Regions from separate parts of the Homo sapiens genome. Here regions 1, 3 and 4 are each linked to region 2. Evidence: promoter capture Hi-C in 16 types of primary human blood cells and fetal thymus (Javierre and others, 2016). All regions are on one chromosome and are shown on one strand. The core of a region is centred on a gene start or on the middle of the fragment in contact, and the rest is flanking DNA. Distances in the headings are between cores, read along the strand shown. Region 1 overlaps MTMR6 (myotubularin related protein 6). Region 2 holds the start of RNF6 (ring finger protein 6). Region 3 holds the start of USP12 (ubiquitin specific peptidase 12). Region 4 has its middle 4.6 kb from the start of NUP58.

The links. The method cuts DNA at HindIII sites, captures the fragments that hold promoters and counts their contacts. A CHiCAGO score of 5 or more calls a contact.
Region 1: a fragment that was not itself captured here is called in contact with the fragment with the promoter of RNF6 in region 2 in 1 of 17 cell types (neutrophils); the score reaches 7.6 in neutrophils.
Region 3: a fragment that was not itself captured here is called in contact with the fragment with the promoter of RNF6 in region 2 in 1 of 17 cell types (total CD8 T cells); the score reaches 5.2 in total CD8 T cells.
Region 4: a contact is called between a fragment that was not itself captured here and the fragment with the promoter of RNF6 in region 2, in 3 of 17 cell types (non-activated CD4 T cells, total CD8 T cells and fetal thymus). The highest score is 6.3, in non-activated CD4 T cells.

Annotation. Positions count from the first base shown.
Region 1 is chr13:25,269,007-25,272,277 of GRCh38, forward strand. The region is part of intron 2 of MTMR6 (myotubularin related protein 6); the gene reads right to left. Among named protein-coding and RNA genes, the nearest start is that of MTMR6, 17 kb to the right of the region's middle. The HindIII fragment of the contact is 2,442 bases long and covers 746-3,187 here.
Region 2 is chr13:26,220,793-26,224,082 of GRCh38, forward strand. RNF6 (ring finger protein 6) reads right to left here and starts at 1,522. Exons shown (of 5, transcript NM_005977.4): 1 at 1,211-1,522; 2 at 456-538. RefSeq lists enhancers at 294-1,175, 1,176-2,057, 1,203-1,582 and a silencer at 703-752. The HindIII fragment of the contact is 7,611 bases long and covers 1-3,290 here.
Region 3 is chr13:27,171,518-27,174,916 of GRCh38, forward strand. USP12 (ubiquitin specific peptidase 12) reads right to left here and starts at 294. Exons shown (of 9, transcript NM_182488.4): 1 at 75-294. The coding sequence starts at 122. USP12-DT (USP12 divergent transcript) reads left to right here and starts at 742. Exons shown (of 2, transcript NR_046548.1): 1 at 742-855. RefSeq lists silencers at 1-40, 181-820 and an enhancer at 881-1,070. The HindIII fragment of the contact is 218 bases long and covers 1,351-1,568 here.
Region 4 is chr13:25,295,399-25,298,586 of GRCh38, forward strand. No RefSeq gene overlaps it. Among named protein-coding and RNA genes, the nearest start is that of NUP58, 4.6 kb to the right of the region's middle. The HindIII fragment of the contact is 1,333 bases long and covers 614-1,946 here.

The DNA of each region.
Region 1 (3,271 bases), core at 717-3,216, 950 kb before region 2:
GTCGTGATCTAGCTGGGTGTGCATGTGCTTGGGGCGGTACTGACACACCAGCCCCTAGCTGCCTTGGCCCCTCTGGAAACTGCTTCTGAGGCTGAAATTTTGGGTGCCCATGAGCACAGGAGGGAGGCTGAGGACCTTGGGGGTGGCATGGTGCAGAGTTGATCAACATTACATCTCCAGCACCTAACACAGTACCTGGAACATTATAATTGCCCTCCTCAAATCAAAAAGCTTGCAAATGTTATATATCACACACTTCAACTTTAATTTTTTAAATGTGAATGCCCAAGCCAGAAATATGGATGTCATCCCTGATACCTCCTTTATCACAATAAGAGTTTACTAAATGAATGAATAAAAAGTCCTACTATAAACTCAATACTTGATGGTATTTTAAACATATGCTTATTGTTCTCACCTACTACCAATAATATTTTGTTTGCTACTAAAAATGCCTACTTTTTCTTAATAACACTCCTATTAAAATATTTATAGAAAACTTTTCTGGAGAATAAAAGATCATAGGCTCCTAATCATGCAAGAGATCCATTTATCCCAAATTAATCTAAAAATTCAACATAAATTTCAGTTTAAAAATTCCAATCTGCTTTGTTTTGTAGTGAGGGATGATTATTTATATAATACACATATATTATGTAATTATTACATTATATGTTAATATTAATTATACATCTTAAATCTAAAGTTCACCTGCAAAATTAAATGCATTTAAATAATCAAGAAAAGCTTGAAAAACAATGAGAGAAGCAGTTGTCAATGGAAATTAAAACTACATAGAGAACAAATAATTAACACACACACACACATATATAGTCCTTACGGCTAAGATTTAGCACCATTATCACTTATATTAATGCGCCTGTGACAAGTTACTAAAAATGATCTAATAATAACATTTAAACAGAGAATAAGGAATAAAAGCTAACTGTAATATTACAAGTTGAGAACCCTTTATCCAAAATGTTTGGGACTAGAAGTATTTCAAATTTTGGATTTTTAAAGATTTTGGTATATTTGCATTATACTTATCAATTGACATCCCTAATCTGAAAATCTGAAATCTGAAATGCTCCAATGAGCATTTCCTTTGAACATCATGTCAGTGCTGAATTTTTGGATTGGGGATATTCAACCTGTACATCACTGTTCTGATTTTAATTATAAAAACCCAAAAGTATTTGCAGGAAGAAAATGATGAAGAAACCTGGTCCTACCACTAACTAGTTATGTGATTTTGAAAACATAATCAACTGTAAAGTGAGAAAAAGGATATAAGGTTGATACGGCCCCTTCTGGATCTAAAATGTTCATTTCTATGGCTCTAGTATATTAAACAAACTTCATTTAGGGCAAACATAAGGGAATATACTGATAAGAAAGCATTTAAAAGACAACAATAGGAGAGTAGAGAATAACACAGATATCTTTTTGTTGCCCCTCAAACTACATTCCCAGCAGCTGAGGGAATAGCTATACGGGAAGCCTTCATTTATATCTCTACGAGATGGATAATAGAGAAAATACTGAAGCAAGTGGACAAAGGAGGGGTAGATGGAGTGGATGATAATATGACTAATTATTTCAGAAGGTACTGCTAGGTAAAATTCCTGGCAATTCTTGGACAAACACTGGATGAAGAAGGGATCCAGTGCCTCTAGGGAATACAACTTCTCCAAGATCAGTATCTCAAGTGAGTTTCCTTAACAGCTGATATAGAATCATATATCAATTGGTTAGCCTTCTTGGGGAAATCAGAAGAGTACAATCAAAGAGAGAAAGAGAAGAGAACAGTATGACAGTATGTGCAGTACAGGGGTGTACCACAGAGCAACATCAATCTCTGGACTGGGAGGCATAATTGACCTCTAATCTTGATTCAACTGCTTAGAAAAATAGTATGAGCAGCTATGATTTACGCCACTACTATGTTTTACGCACAGATGTTTTTCATATTTTCTTTCATCTAAGACTCACAAAAGCCCTACATGATGACTGATGCTATATACCCATTTTATGTGGGTGCTAAGCTCGAAAGTTACATACTTTTTGGCAGACACTGTTGGTCTGCCATTCCTCCCCCCCTTCCTTACTTGCAACATCCTTTTCCCTCAAGAGATAAAAAATACTAGGATCTACATTCTCTGCCTCCTTTTCAGGTAGGAGTAGCCAAGTGTCCGGATTTTCAAACAATCAGATGTTAGGGAAAGTTAGCTGGGGGCCTTCTGAGAGAGCTTCTCCTCCCTGATAAGCAATGGGGCTACTGAGGAAAGCCTACCCACCTCTCCTGCTTTGCAAGGTTTGGCACCATGTTCAGTCAGGTATTCATTTACTTACAGCCAAAAGCACCCTGACATAGTCACCCAAGCAGTGAACAGCAGAGCTGACATTTGAACCCAAAGCTACCTGACAACACAGTCTACGTGAGCTCATTTTACTACTCTACACTGCCTGTGTAACAATGAATGAATTGCCACTTGCCTGAGCTTCAGCTTCTTCATCTATAAAGTGGAGGTTCTAAAAGCTGGCAGAGCTAGTGGCACAGAAACATGCCCAAGTCTCTTCCTCTCAGGCACAGAGACACAAGCCCCATATTCTAACCACCTTTCCTACTTCTTTTTCTGCTTAGCACTTATCACTATGTATTTTACTTATCTACCTACTTATTGGTGATGTTATCAATATCTTTCAGCACTAGAATGTTGGCTCCATGAGGATAGAATTTGTACCTGTTATTATTGGCTATTGTTTCCAAAATATCTAGAATAGTGATATGAAACACACTGTATATGCTCAATAAATGTGTGCTAAATGAATTCTAAAACAGAAAAGGAAGAACAAAGAATCCAAAATAGCCATGGCAATTTTGAAGAACAAGTTGGGAGGGTATGCTCTACTTGATATCAAAATTTATTTAAAAGCTATAGTCAATAAAACAGTGTGGTACAGTGTAGTCAGTATACCAAACGAATAGAAAAGAAAACTCAAAAGCAGAGCCTCACATACATGGAAGATGTTTTTATGACAGAGCTGGTACTAAAGACGAATGGAATGAAACAGTCAATAAATGGCGCCGGTCGTCTATACGAAAACATAAAAATGAATCCCTAGTCACATCATACACCAAAATATTTCCCAGATGTATTAACAACTTACAGGATCAAACTTAAGCTTTTAGAAGAAAATATAGAAGAACCTTTATGACTTTGACATAGGAAAGGATTTCTTAAGTCACAACAGAGCACAAACAATA
Region 2 (3,290 bases), core at 272-2,771:
CAGTGAAGCAACTGTGCAACTCTGCCTCTCGAAATACACTAGGTATTTAATAAGCAAGCTGCTTTAAATATAAGGTGAAATTAGCCTACAAGTCTAAAATACTGTTGGAGTAAGCAACTATTCAATTTCACCTGTAACACTAAATTACAAATTCAAGGATTTTTTTCACTGTGGTTATTTTATTATGTCATTTTGAACAAATGACCTAGTAACATTATCCACTCAAATATGAATTAACACTACTAAAAACTCAAGATCTCTATCTTCAGATTAAGACCATAATTAGCAAAGAGCATATTTCGTAGGTACAGCAATAATAGGATTTTTGTAATAAATAATTTTACAAGTTGAAGCCTATCATAAAATCAAGTTACCCTAATATTATTTAAAACTTGAGCTTCTCCTTAAAGGTAATTTTCTTATACAGTTAATCACAATGAAAACAAAGCGAATACCTTATTTTCCTTTCAACACGCTTTTAACATATGCCATGGTATCCATCCTTCAATTGTTTGTGCCTTTTTTGAGAGCTGCCCATCTGAAGCAATAAAAGAGAGTTGAATAATTCAATAAACTGTTTCTTTAAAGGCCAGGAACGGGTGGTAGTCTCCCCACTCTGCTGCAAAGCCAAAGCAAATTCTCCAGTGGATTTTGTTAGACACATCTAGAAAATTAGATCCCCATACAATTAGGTCACGAAAACCTCCCGCAAGGCCCCTACCTTCCGCAACAAACTTAGGCCTTTCGTCCTACACTGTCACTGTTCCTGGGTTTACGCCTCCTCTCTCAAAGGCCTTCCTTCCTATCCCGTTCCCATTCGGATGTTACCAGGGTTAGGCGTCTCCGGCTTACTTCTAAACCTTGACTTTCTTGCCACCCCCGCCCTCCGTCCCGCTACTGGTTTCTTTCCCGGCCGTTGCGACGGAAGCTCGCGCCGGGGGACGATCCCCACTACGATAAATAAAGTGGGCTCAAGAGGCCCAACCAACCTCTTCCCAACCGAGCCTCAAGTAACGCTTCCCTTAGAGACCTAGATTCTCACAAGGAAGCAGGTGATAGACGGTGCATCCCAACCAATCACCAGCCAGCGGAGCGCAATAAGAAGGCAGTTAACCAATCGGAGAAGAGATGGGTGGCTCGAAGGATGGCCTGCTTTCCCCGGCGTCTCCAGGAAGTAGTGGTGGGACCCAGATCTTTCCCTCGAGCCCACCTCTCCAGGTCTTGGGCCTTCGCCCTCCTGTCCGGAGAACGTGTGCTGTGGGCGGCCGTTCTCTCGGGTGCTGGAGGCTGTGGTTGGGAGGCGGGATAGGCTTGCCGCCGCGCCTCCGGAGCCCGCTGTGCCCTCGAATTGGCCACTGAGGAGAGAAGCCGGAAGCCCGTGCTGCAGCGTGGGGTCGTCCAGCTGGAGGGGATACTCGGGAGGAAGAACGGCAGGCCCCAGCCCTTCTTTCCCGACAGCCACGCCGCCCACTTGGCGGCGGGGAGTCGCTCCGCAGCCGGCCCGGAGCTCGCCCGTGCAACTGAAAACTGCGTCCGTCGGGAGCTAGGGTGCCTGGCGTCCCGCGTTCCGCCCTCTTGCGCCGCCCTTACAGTGCCTCCTCCTCGAGGCCAAATGCCCGGCCGCTCAGCGCTCGTGGCAGCCGCGTAGTTGCAGAGACACGGTCTGCTTTCCAGGCTTGGGAAGTCCCAGCACTTAACTCTGCGCGTCGGTGTCGCTCGTTTGCCAGCCAGACTATAAAGTGCACCCAACGGTGTATGCGTCTCTTTACTTCCGGGTGTAACGTACTACCCAGCCAGGCCCTTTCCCTTGCTGTGCTTTGGAACCTGGAAATTACAAACCCTAATAAATTCTGAAGTCTGTCTGTCTGTCTATCTCTATTTGAGACAAGGTCTCATCCTGTCGCCCAGGCTAGAGCGATCGTAGCTCACTGCAGCCTCCAGCGATCCTCCCTCCTCATCCCAGTAGCTGGAACTACAGGCGCTTGCCATTAATTTCACATTTTTTCTTTTGTAGAGACGGGGGTCTCGCTATGTTGCCCAGGCTGGTTTCGTACTCGGCCTCAAGCAATCCTCTCACCTCAGCAAAATGGGATTACAGGCATGAGGCACCGCACCCCACTATATTTTGTGTTTTTTCACCTTCCCGCTAGGAAAGCAGTTTGAAACTCCCAACATTCCTCCCTCTGATTTTATTTCTGAGATGTGAGGCTTACTAAACTTACCTCACCGTTAGTTAAGATGCTGAGTAGGTCTCTGTCTAACCTGGTATAGTCCCCTTTCCTGACATCCCTACCATCTGATGACTTCATCACTGGAGAGTGCTCACAATGCCGTTACTTGTTATTCTTCCGTTTGTTCTTTCATTTCTGCATTAACTTTTGAGGAACTACCATATCCCCATTATTATGCTGGGCACCTGGATAACAAGCTACATGCAGTCCTTAGCATCAATGAGCTACCAGTGTAGTAAGGATCTATGGACAAGTGTTTAAAATAAGCATATGGATATGGATACTAAAATGGAAATATATAAAACAGCCTAGAAAGCCCTTCCAGATCTTTCTTCTGCTTACATTTACAGGCTGTTGTCTTGGCACTCCGAAACTGCTTGAAGTTCCGCCACAAGATATGGGAACTCCTAAGCAACCCCCAACTCCACTTTTACCTAATTTCCTCTGTCTCCCAAAACTCAGCTCAGTTCTCATCTTTAAGGAATTTTTCCTGATACCTCTGAAATAACACCCTTACCTCACCCTCCAGCCCGATATTTACACATAAAACTAAGCAAATGTCCCTTTTGGGGGCTCCCATACTCCCTCTATATATAAAACCCTATTTTAGCATGTATTCATGTATTTAACAAATAGTGAGTGTGACTATGTATTAGGTGCTGGTGATGACAGCCGTGAATCAGACAGTCATGTCCTCATAGAATGAAGTCCTTGCCCTCTTTTCCCATGGAAAAAGAGCCATTGAGCAAATACTTAAGATGATTTTCTGTTTTTAGGTCTTTACTACCTAGAGTCTGAACTGCTTAAGTGTGATCAAATGGTCTAATTCATTTTTGTAATCCCAGAACTTAGCACAGCACTTGGCAGAACATTCTCCTCAGCCTACTGCATAGATGAGCAGAGAAAAATGCAATCTTTTGGCAAACGGGATTAATGCACACAGTACAACGACTTCAGATATTGTGAACACACATCATAGAAAATAACAAGTAGAAATCATTTTTAATATCTGTGAATTTTGGAGAGTGCAATCAAATGCAATAATCCAAGTGCAAATAC
Region 3 (3,399 bases), core at 210-2,709, 950 kb after region 2:
GAGAGGCGGGTCCAGCGCCGCCCGCCCGCCCGAGAGGTCCCGGCAGCCCCGGCCGCCCGCTCGCCGCCACCTACCATGGTACAGATGGAGGCGAATTTGGAGACTGTCATTAGGATTTCCATCCGGCCAGCGCCATCTTCCACCCAATCACAGCGGCGGCGGCGGGCGGGGGAGGAGGGGAGCCGGGCCGCCCGCTCGCACCGCAGCCCGCGGGCGGACCCCGAGCCGCCGCGGACCCAACCACCGAGCCCGCTGGGCCGCCGCTGCCGTCGTCGCCGCCGGCGCTCAGGCACTCCCGGCCTCGGGCCCCAGCCCCCGCCTGCCGGCCGCCGGCCCGCCCCCGGCTCCGCCCCGGCGCAGGGCGCAGCCGCTGCCTCCGGGCCCGCGCCTGCACGCGAAGCCGCCCTCCGCCCACCCCGCCCAGCGCACAGGGGAGCGGGCTCCGCCGAGGCCCTAATGCCCGGCCTGCCAGGCAGCGGCGCGGCCAGGCGGCGCAGCCCCGCCCACCCCTCGGCAACCCCTCCGCGGCCCTTGTGCGCGAGCCGGGGAACTCCGGTCCGTCCCCACCCCGCGCGCGGCAGAGGGCAGGACCGAAGGCGGGCGCCACCTCCTGCCCGCGTCCCTGCGGTCCTAGAGCCGGGGACCCAGAGACCCCCGCGTAGGAAGGGGTGCGGCGGGGAGGCGCGGGGGTGGCGGCGGCGATCTGGGAGAACCCTGGAGGGGACCAGCTGCGACACCCACCGCGGGCGAGGGGACGGCGAGCCCCCGCTGCCTAAACAGAAAACGGAGGCGATGATCTGGGTAACTACGGGCGGAGTGGGAGGAAACCTGCTCTGCACAGTTAAGATAACCCGGGTATGCGTCCCAAGCACTTGGTTTGTTTCTTTTTACGTATATTGGATGAATCACCGGAGTCAAACACAACTTAGAAAAAGACAAAATAATTAAACAAAAATGAAGAGGCAAAGAACAAATTACACATGTTTAACTCTTTGAATTAAGAAGAAAGATAAGTAATGGGGGAAGGAGAGGAGCGAAACCTGTTGGCCTGTTGGCGATAAATTTATAATAGGCTTCTAAATATCTGCACATTGAGCTGCAAAATAGGGAGGATCTCAAGCCAGCAGTGATGATGATATTACCAGAGACAGGAAGCCCGCAAGCAAGAAAAATGCCCTGTGAGAAATCCTTAGGCAGTGCTGGCTACTGGCATGGGTAGTTCCTCTTTCTCCTTTTATAAAATTCATATTTGCACCCTGTTCTTCATGCCTGGCAGCTCAGCTTTATTTTTTCCTATTTGAGAAAGTAGTTCAAGTGAGTAGAATAACTTCATAAATTATTATGTTAGAAAGCTTGTGATATTTTCTGATTGAACTCGTGATGGGGTACTTTTCTGGGTTCCCCTAATTCAGTGGGGTTGAGGATCTGAATTCAGGCAGAGCTGTAAAATCAGAAATGCCTCACCTCAAGGGTTCAAAGCACTCAAAAACAAAAAGCATTCAAACAAAATTTAAGTGAAAAATAGACTTCTGGTACATGAATACTGTTTCCATAGTGATTCCATTATAAGCTTGCTTGGGGGGGGAATGCAGATTGAATATAGCCAAGCCCCATGGTAGCCGGACTGGATCTCCAAGCGCCTGCCTCCATGGAAGCCAAGAGCCCTGATACCCCAGCCAGGGGCTTTCCTCTCTATACTTGCAAGCATCACCCACCTGAATTCTTTCTTGCTCTTTTCTACCCCCTGTTTGGACAAGGGTTTCTACATCTTAGACCTCTAGGGCCTACCTGGGCCTTGTCCGAGTGTCACCATGCCCATCTGTGTGCCCGTCCTGATAAATAGCTGTGGTCATCCTGTCCTTCCCACTTGCTGTTCTATTCCAGCAAACAGGTCTGATGTGCCAGAATTTTAGACCTGCCTCCATCCCGCTAACCACCCATATGCCTCCTTGTCCATTAATCCGAACATGTCACAGGAACAAAAGCCACTGGCTTTACATATAAGTTTATATAAGAACAAGGCCTTTCTAAAATGAATTTCTAGGCTGAGTATGGTGGCTCACACCTGTAATTCCAGCACTTTGGGAGGCCGAGGCAGGTGGATCACTTGAGGTCAGGAGTTGGAGACCAGCCTGGCCAACGTGGTGAAATCCCGTCTCTACTAAAATACAAAAATTAGCCAGGCGTAGCAGTGTACGCCTGTAATCCCAGCTACTCAGGAGGCTGAGGCATAAGAATAGATTGGATCCTGGAGGTGGAGATTGCAGTGAACTGGGATTGTGCCATTGCACCCCAGCCTGGGTGACAGAGTGAGACTCTCTCAAAAATAAATAAATAAATAAATTTCTAGGCTGGGCACAGTGGATCAGGCCTGTAATCCCAGCACTTTGGGAGGCTGAGGCAGGAGGATGGCTTCCAACTTCCTTGAGACCAGGGAGTTCAAGACCAGCCTGGGCAACATAGTGAGACCTTGTCTCTACTAAAAATAAAAATAAATACGTGGTGCATGGTGGCGCATACCTATAGTCCCAGCTACTTGTGAGGCGAAGTAAGAGGATAACTTAAGCCCGAGATATCCAGGTTGCAGTGAGCCATGATTGAACCACTGCACTGTAGCCTGAGCGACAGACTGAAACAGTATCTCAAAAATACAGCACAGTGGCTCTCGCCTGTTGTAATCCCAGCACTTTGGGAGGCCAAGGCGGGCGGATCACTTGAGGTCAGGAGTTTGAGACCAACCTGGCCAACATGGAGAAAGCCCATCTCTACTAAAACTACAAAAATTAGTTGGGCATGGTGGCGAGCACCTGTAATCCAAGCTACTAGGGAGGCTGAGGCAGGAGAGTCGCATGAACCTGGGAAAAACCAGTGAGCCGAGATCATGCTACTGCACTCCAGCTTGGGCGACAGAGTAAGATTCCGTCTCAAAAATTAAATTAAATTAAATTTTAAAAAGTAAAATGGATTTCTGATAGAATTATCTGGAGTCATGTCTAGTTGATGTTGGAGCCATCTAAATTCACAGGTAAAGTCATGAAACCTAATCACAGAGCCTCACAATGCCTTGTCTCCACAGCCTATGGTCGATTGGAGAGACACAAACATAAAAGAGACATTCTTGAATCTATGTGCTAGGTGTTGTACTGAGTGTTCTTTACCATATGTAATGCAGTTGGAGAATAAGTTTGGCTGAAACTCCACACTTTTGCACCCTGAGCTTGGAAAGGGTAATCTGGCTTTAGAACACAGCTTTACACAGCTGTGTAATCAGCTTTACAAAGAGCTTCCCTGTGCCTAGCAAAAGATGAGTTTGTGTACAACTGACTCCTTTTCGGCCTTCTTGAATATGCAAACTACAAAATATGCCCAGATGCCTCAGGGACCAGGCAAGTAAATGAA
Region 4 (3,188 bases), core at 30-2,529, 930 kb before region 2:
GCACTTGCTATTGACATTGGCCGACACAGTGGTTAGTCATGCTCTAGTCTACATGACCACTTTATTGAACACTGGGTTCTGTGGGGTGCGAGCAGACAGTATCTTTCTTTTGCTCCACCGCTACCCTTCAAGCCTGCTTTGCTGGCTGTCTCTTCACCTCTCCTCAATAGGAGCTTGAGTTGATCCTGGAGAAGTACCTGTTTCTCTCATATTTTAGAGTAATCTGACATATATACTTCAAAATGTATCCAGTTCAAAGCTTCTCCTTTTCCCTATACCACCCAGGTTTGATGACAGTGGGATGGAGGTGGGACGGGGTAGGAGAATCTGTTTTGACCGTCTTGGCCCACTTTCTTCCTGCTTGCTTTCTAGCTCCTGTTTTGGCTCCCCGAGCATCAGGTCTTACTTGACAAAACCTTTTATAATCTGGCATCACTGATTTGTGTGCAGCAGATGCCTGAATGCCTCCTCTTTCTCCCTTGGGCAACTCAGTCAATTACTTAACCCTTCATCCAACCTCTGGGGCTTGCAGAATGCCTTAATTCCCTGAAGTAGGTGCAGCTCTCTCTAGTTCATTTCTTACAAGCTGACTCTTGGTTTCTGATATACACAAAGCTTGGCTACTCCTGTTTTTCTGGATTCCCTTGAAACTTGTCTGTGTCTATACAATAACTCTGTGTTCCCACACCTCCCCCATATATGCACACACTTATGCTTGAACTACCTTGAGAGAGTTCCTATTCTTAGCAATAAAAGAGGTCTAATTAGATTATGGGGAAACTGCTCAGAGCAAAGGGAATTGGGCAGGCTTAAGGAACTTTTATCCATGACATGGAAAAGACATGAATATACTCCTGCTTCATGGAGGTGGACATCTGTCTAGTGACCAGAATATGTGTATCCGTCAAGCACAATGACTTGTTTCCATGAAAGGTGAGAGCAATAAGTGCAGATATATTGTTCCTCTTTGGCTCCCATTTTTTTGAGACTACATGTTGACCACTGCCTTTCTGTTGGCGTGTTTCAAGGCAATTACATAATAGGTTGTTGGTGGCATTTTTATTGTTATATTCCAGCCCTATATATATTATTGACTTCTGTCAATCTTGGATATTTCCTAGGTTTCCTCAGTAACGCATGTAAAATTCATCTTTTGGGGTGAACTCCTACTAAAAAGGTATATTACATTTAGTTATGAATAATAAAGATTCAGCTCTAATGGACTAAATAACATACAAATAGACTTTTCTCTCATTTAAAAGAAATCTGAAGGTAGGTAGTATAGGGCTGGTATGGTGCCTCTACAGTATACCATCACGACCTAAGCTCATACTATTTTTTTGTGATACCCTCCTTTGCATATGACTTCCATTCTTAAAGTCACTCATGGACCAAGATGGCTATTGGAGATCCAGCCATTGTGTCTAAGTTCCAGGTAGTAGGAAGAAAGGAGAAGAAAGTCAAAACAGATGTATGCCAGCTATCTGTCCCCAAGAAAATGAGTGATTCTGGAAGTCTCATCTCATGTTTCCTACCCACCTCTACCTATAGAGGAAGCTGGAGACATATAGTTGTTTATCTGGTTAGTTTGCCACTTTGGAGAAAACTGAGGTTTTAAGGAAGAAGGAAGGAAAGAATAAATATTGGTGGCCAGAAGACAGCGTCCATCATTTATCTTATGTTGACATTGCTTAGTTTCTCTTCTCAGCCTTCCTTATCCACTAAAGTTGTCAAGTCATAAAAGCAACTTTTTCAGGTCCCATCTCTGCCAATAGGAAGGGTGTATTTCAAAATAAATGACTATAGTTTGAATTACATACATTTAGCTTTATGGATAACTCCTTACATTTATTTTTCTCATTTATTGGGTGATGAGTGAAAAAATTCATCAGGAAATAGACAATTACTGTTCTGACCTGTGATTGGGAACTTTTGTTTTAACTTTAAGCTTTTCCCCCTTAACTTTGTAGTTTGAAAATTTCAAACCTACAGAAAAGTTGTAAAATTATTACAATGAACACCCATATACCTTGTTTTGACAGTCATCCTATAATTTGCATTATTGATTTATCTCTCTATATACATTTGGTTGTTGCTGTTGTTCAATCACTTGAGAACTTAATGAATTTTTAAAGTGGAAGGACACTACTCAAATATTTAAAACCCTAAAATATTTAAGACCTTTTCTGAGAATAATTTTCAAGATAAAGACTGTGATTGAAGGCAAATGGTTACATGTAATTTCTAAAAGATAACCTCTTTTCTGGATATTTCAGAGGACCAGAACTGGAGATATTACAGACTCCTTTCAATAGACTTCAGATTCCCACTTCTTTTCTGTCTTAGAACCGCTGCTGAGAGAGGTTCTCAAATGGTTATCCTGATCTGAACACCCCCACCAAAGCAAACCTATTTTAGATATGTTAATGCAAACACAAATTAGAAGTTTTAGCCTGGGCAACACGGTGAAAACCCATCTTTACAAATAAACAAATTAGCCGGGCATGGTGGTGGACACCTTTATGTAGTCCGAGCTACTCGGGTGGCTGAGGTGGGAGGATCGCTTGAGCCAGACAGGCAGAGGTTGCAGTGAGCCAAGATGGTGCCACTGCACTCCAGCCTGGGCACAGAGCCAGACCCTGTCTCAAAAAGGAAGAAAAAAAAAAAGTAAATTTTTTACAGTGCTATTTCTGTTTGGATAATTCAGTTTGATTATGACATTAACAATGTCATCATCCTGCTGGCAAATCAGCAAAAGATGCAGTTCTCTAACAGAATGCTTACAATATAAGAAGCAAGGAAAGACAAGATGGCCTACTCTAGAATTTAGAATCTGAAGCACTTGCTTCATCCCTGGAAGCAGCAATTCACATAGAACTGACACATAGGTTCAAGTCCTCTAATGTTAAAAAGCGTAATATTTAGAAGATCCTTTGGGATAGGATTTGTTACTCTACCTAGACTAGGTCAGGAAGGTTAAGCCAGATTCCAGTGCTCCATGGTTCTGCTCAGTTGCAGATAGGATTCAGACTTATGTATGCGTAATGCTCAGTTACTGCTATTTTACTGTTTTCCATTCACTAACCAAACCATTGAGCTTATTGAAAGCTGCTTTCTTTGGAGTTTCATTTCTGTAGAATGTAAGGATGTAATTTCTTTCTTCACTAATAGGACAAGCGGCACAAGGT